2 separate regions of the Homo sapiens genome follow, and region 1 is linked to region 2. Evidence: promoter capture Hi-C in human tissues and cell types (Jung and others, 2019). All regions are on one chromosome and are shown on one strand. The core of a region is centred on a gene start or on the middle of the fragment in contact, and the rest is flanking DNA. Distances in the headings are between cores, read along the strand shown.

Region 1 (2,700 bases), core at 68-2,567, 77 kb after region 2:
GGACAGAAAAATGTTACTTAGAAATTTTCAGTAACATCTTGAACACAAAACTAAAAACCAAGAATATATGAGATCAGAATGATTTTAAAAAATCAATTCATTTTTTATTTCACAAAGCATACCTTTGATACATCCACACACATCACTGGCTACCTTTGCTTTGAAAATTTATTCATCTCGGCCATGACAATGCATCCCTTAAGGGTTATTTCTGATGCAGACTTTCTACTCCTAACTAAGCAGAATCTGAACTTTTCTAGAGAAAGGAAAGCTTTCGAAGGTGCAGCTCTGGAAGCACCAGCACTTACCTGACATTTGGAGAGTGAGGATGCCACCGGGGCTGGCTGGGATGGATATTAGGATGATATTGAGGCTAGAAATAAAACACCAAACTTGATTATTTGATGACCTTTTAATTTCAATGGTCCTCATTCGCTTTGTCTGTTCCTGGCATCCACCCGAGGGGCTGGGGGACTAAGAATGGAAAGGCTATAGACCCTGGCTAGGGGGTGGATGTTTCCCAGGACGATCACGTTTCCCCCTCTGACAAAGGCTGGGGGCTGGCACCCAGTGCCGGTTCTTGCCCTCTCCAGAGGCGGCTCCCTGTGAAGGGGCTGGGAAGCTGCCCTTAGAAGGTGACAACACCGGCCTTGAAGGGGGTCGTCCGGAGTACCAGAGACAAGCTGTATTCATCTTCCCAAGGGAAGAGGCGGAAGGTGTCAGAGAGATGGGGAGAGTGGGAGGCAACTTCTCTCTTCAGAAACAATTTTTGTCATTGCTGAAAATGACAATGACCATGTGGAACAGTTACATCTGCACACAGACAAGGACTGGACAGGGATGCTAAGTGAAGCAGCAGGGCCGTGGGTGAAGGTTTTTTCTTTCTCTCTGGTTTATGCAATAAAAATAATCTTCTAAAATGCAATCCAAAACAAAATACCAAAACAAACAAAACCATCCAGAGCGCTTATCATCCTGATAAAACAGGAGGGAGGGAGAGAGTTTGAGAAGAAGGGATGAGGGGAGGGAGGGAAGGAAGGCAGGTAGGGAAAGAGAGAAGAAAGAAAAAGAAGGGAAGGGAAGGAAGAAAGAGAAAGAAGAGAAGGAAGGAGGTTGAAGGTTGTCTTTTTTTTTTTTTTTTTTTTTTTTTTTTTTTTACAGAGTCTCACTCTGTCACCCAGGCTGGAGTGCAATGGCAGTATCTTGGCAACCTCTACCTCCTGGGTTCAAGCGATTCTCCTGCCTCAGTCTCCTGGGTAGCTGGGATTACAGGCACGTGCCACCACACCCCGCTAATTTTGAAGGAAGTTGTCCATTTTAAGAAGAGAACACAGACCCTGTACTCACAAACGGACTGAGGTGCAGCCCTAGCCGGCTAGGTAGCAGCCTGCCTTTCCACTTCTGGCCTGCAGAGGGCAGTGGTCCTAGACATCAGCAGAAGTCAGGGGCTTCTCAAGGCTCAATCTCCTAAGGGGCAAATTAGGCCCTCCTGACATTTAAGTCACTACAGTCTTGCCACTGTTACTCTTTTAATTATTTCTTCCCCTCCTTCTCAGGATACTTTGCTTAGTAAGCAGTGGCCTGCTCTCTGGCACAGAGAATCTCAGCAGTTCTGTTCGTTCCATTTTCATGGACCTGAGATGCCCTCCCTGCCTGTTCTGTATTCAAGCAGCCTTTCCTTTCTCCTTCAAAGACGCCTGTCAGCAAGCAGACTCTGCAGCCCCCGGAAGGACATGCTGCAGGAAAAGGAATCTGGAGAAAATACCTCAGTAGCAGGATCTGGGAGCTGACCAGGGCTTTAGCATCTCCCTGCTGCAATCTCTGCATATTTCTCCTTTAGGGGCTACAGAAACCCACAGAGTTTAGATGATTTGCCCAGAGTCTAACTGTTCCAGGTGTTTTGATCACATAGACAGGCCCAGAATGAGGTTCCATTCATTGGCTGTTCAACAATAGAGAAAGGCTGACCTAGAACTGGACCCTCTATGTTTTCCTCTGGCTTTAAACACAACCAAATCAGATTCATCAGAGAGAGAGGTGGGAACCTTAGCCACAGACCTGGAAAAAGATTTTGGAAACTTCCTTGGTCTCCTCTGGCAATTTATTCACATTCTCAACTGTCAAGGAGTATTTTAGTGTTAACCCAGCTGGTTCTCAACTGGTACACTCATATCCCTTGGAGGACAATGGGAAATGACTGTGTGCATGTTTGCTTGTCATAGTAAGAGAGAAAAGGGAAGCTAATCATCCTGCAATTCCAGGGACAGTCCCAAACAATGAAGAACTCTCCCTCCCCAAATGCCAACAGCGTCCTCATTGAGAACACAGAGATCCATCCTTTGCAGCTGGCTGACCTTGCAGTGCTTGAAATAAGATAAATGCTGCAACACCATCCTCTCAAATACCCTTCACGGTATTCACATGCCAATCAGGCCACTTCTCAGGACGTTCTCTTCCCGGTCAATTTATTCCCAACCCTTGATAGAACACAAGACCTCTAAGATTGGCAAGGTCCAAAGGACCCGTGGTTGCCAATGATGTTGCGATAACAATGCCTAGATGAGTTTCAGTAGATCTGATTTCAACAATCGCCTCATGTTCACTCTAAGCAGAAAACGCACAGTGAGAACACACTACAGGCTATGCGGAGAGGGCACAGGCAGTGCTCAGCTGCTTTGCTTTTCTAAAATTTTTCTCTCC
Region 2 (2,700 bases), core at 201-2,700:
GCTTCATTTTTCCCACTGTCTAGAATGTGAACATAATGGCTGTAGCTCAAGCAGTTATTTTGAACCATGAAGTTACATGCTAAGAATTGTGAAGAAACAGAAGGGCAGGATCCAGAGACACTGGTGACCAAGGAGCCTCCAGACCAGTTCTGGATTACCTATTTCTAGTTTTCTTTCTGTAAGAGAGAAACTTCTATCTTGTTGAAGCTATTAATGTTTGCTTGTTGTATACAGCTGAACTTAATCCTAACAACAGACACATCCACTAACAGATATGAGCTCCTGGGACTCAACACTTCAAACCCCAGCTTGATGGTTGGATATCCCTCTTAGCAGAAGAAAAGGAAAGTCACTACTTCCCAAAGTTGCTTAAAGAGGCCAGTTTCCATTCCTTCTGACCACCATCCGCTTGGCTTTTGTGCTCGTTGAAGCAGCTCTACAGGGAGGCCCTTGGCTGACAAACTCCCAGTCTGCGGGCCCAGCAGGCCACAACAATGGTGGCTCGCACTAGGGGACCATAACATATGTGGCGTCATAAAAGAGGAGGGATGGGAGTGGGGAGGCTGATGTGACCCAGCTCTGACGGGTCAGTGAGCAGGAACAGAATGCTACGAGGTGGGCGCTGGTCACTGCAAATTTAAGTCAATACAGACAGGGAGGAAATAAGGCAACCTCTCTCTTTAGGTTGGGGTTTTTCTGCTTCCCCCTAGCTGCCCTGGCCAGATGGCGGCCTCCTCCCCTATAACCCAACCCCAGGCGGCAAAGGTGGAAGCCAGATCTAAGAACTGGGGGAGCTTAGACTCAGCACCCACCCCTATCCACAGCCTTGCAGAACTTGGATGACCCCTCCCTCTCCCAGCCTCACTCTCCCCATCTGTAAAGCGGGCGGCAGGCATTGACAGCTCTTTGGGCCTTTCCTCCAGGCCGGCGGAGGCCTGGGCACTGCGCTCCCCATCCTGGCCTCGCCTCTGCAAGAGCTGCCTCCACGGACATCTTTTCCGACCCCCTCCCCCTCCCTCGCCCCCTCTCCTCGTTCCCCCGATCCTCGGTCCCCCACCCCCGGTCTCCCCTCCCGCAACCCCTCGCCCTCCCGCAGCCTCACCCTCCTCCGACAGGTAGCGCAGGTCGTAGAACTCCCCCGCGAAGGTGCCGTAGGAGGAGTCGTGGCGCGGCACCGCCTCGTCGGCGCCCGTGTCCCCCCGCGCGCGTCCCCGGGGTCCCCGGCCCCCCGGGCCCGCACCGTCGTCCGCGGGGCTGGCTGCGCAGGCGGCGGGCCCCGTCAGTAGCAGCAGGAGCAGCGACGCCCAGACCCCCGGGTGCTGCCGGGGCGGCCGCGCCATCCGTGCGCACAGATCCCGCAGCCAGGCCGCTCGGGCCGCAGCGGGGGCGCCGCGGGCGCGGGCCGGGACTGAGCCTCCGCCGAGGCCACCAGCACGCGCCCGCGCAGCCGCGGAGCCTCCCGCACCCCCGCCTCCCTGCCTCGGTCTGCGCATCCTCGCTCCAGCACCGCAGCCTCCCCCTTCTTCTTGGAACCCCCCTCCTCCCCGCACCGATCTCTCCTTCCTAGCAGCTTCCCTTCTACCGTCCTTCTTTCCATTCTCCCCATCTCCCCGACTTCCCTCCACGCAGGCAGATTTGGCCCTTCTGGCCCCTTGCTACTCCGGAGTGTGGTCCGCGGACCGGCAGCATCAGCATCACCTGGAAGCTTGTTAGCATCGCTGAGGCCCCACTCCAGACCCATGAAGCGGGATGTTCATTTCATCAAAATTCCCAGGAGATCCCAATGCACGTTCAATTTATGAAACGCTCCTCTAGAGAGTTTACCCTGGACACACCTGGTCAGTGCTGCCTCCTCAACCTTGTGCCGGCACTTTTTGGTTTACATAAAGCACTTGCTAGACCTATTATTTCTTGGATCATCACAGAAGGAACTTGAAATTGCAAGACCCCCACAATAGAGCTAGGTAAACTGAGGTGTTTAGAGACAGAGAAAACTGGATTCACCTGCTTCCTCTCCAGGCTCTTGCGGTGTGTAATCAACAGAGGCTGGTGCCAGTAGGTAACCTGTTCCCCTTCAAAACTAGGCTTCTGGTTTACTCTCTTTCCCTGCAGCAAGCACGCGCAGGCCTTGGAAGGCCCACACCGTATCTGAGGGCCATGCTGAATTGTTGATTTTTCTCAAATCCATTCCTGCTGCTTGCAGTTCACTTTTGGCTATTTACTCAGCCATCCATTGATTCACACCAAGCATTTGCTTTATGGCAGGTCCCAGGGTTCTCTTTTGATGATGGTTGTTGGGGTGATATATTCGAATTGCTAAGCTGTTTTCCATCAGAGAGGCGGACGCAATTCCTTTCAGGCTGGTGTTGCAGAGCCAGCATTTTAACCTGCTTTTCCTATTTTATTATTTTATTTTATTGCATAAACAAAATAATTATGGAGGCAGAAAAGCATAGAGGTCCCAAATGCAGACCTAGAAGTCAGACTGCCTGATCTCTCATGATTAGTCATTGACATGATGCAATGAAGATTAGGGAAGATCATAGAGGTAAGGATCAATAGGGTTCAGTGCTGTAAGTGGCATGCACACATGTACACAATATTGTGAAATGTTAATATTCAAAAGGAAACTAGTGATCTTAACCCTTTATGGCCTGATTGGCTGAGAGATAAGGGTAGTGCTGTTGAAACAGGGGAGAC

The links. The method cuts DNA at HindIII sites, captures the fragments that hold promoters and counts their contacts. A contact is called where the count stands out against the background at its distance.
Region 1: a contact is called between a fragment that was not itself captured here and the fragment with the promoter of FRRS1L in region 2, in 2 of the 25 tissues and cell types used here (adrenal gland and dorsolateral prefrontal cortex).

What each region holds. Positions count from the first base shown.
Region 1 is chr9:109,243,310-109,246,009 of GRCh38, forward strand. EPB41L4B (erythrocyte membrane protein band 4.1 like 4B) reads right to left here. Exons shown (of 26, transcript NM_019114.5): 15 at 309-373. Among named protein-coding and RNA genes, the nearest start is that of EPB41L4B, 76 kb to the right of the region's middle. The HindIII fragment of the contact is 6,336 bases long and covers 1-2,700 here.
Region 2 is chr9:109,165,799-109,168,498 of GRCh38, forward strand. FRRS1L (ferric chelate reductase 1 like) reads right to left here and starts at 1,451. Exons shown (of 5, transcript NM_014334.4): 1 at 1,103-1,451. The coding sequence starts at 1,340. The HindIII fragment of the contact is 7,141 bases long and covers 1-2,457 here.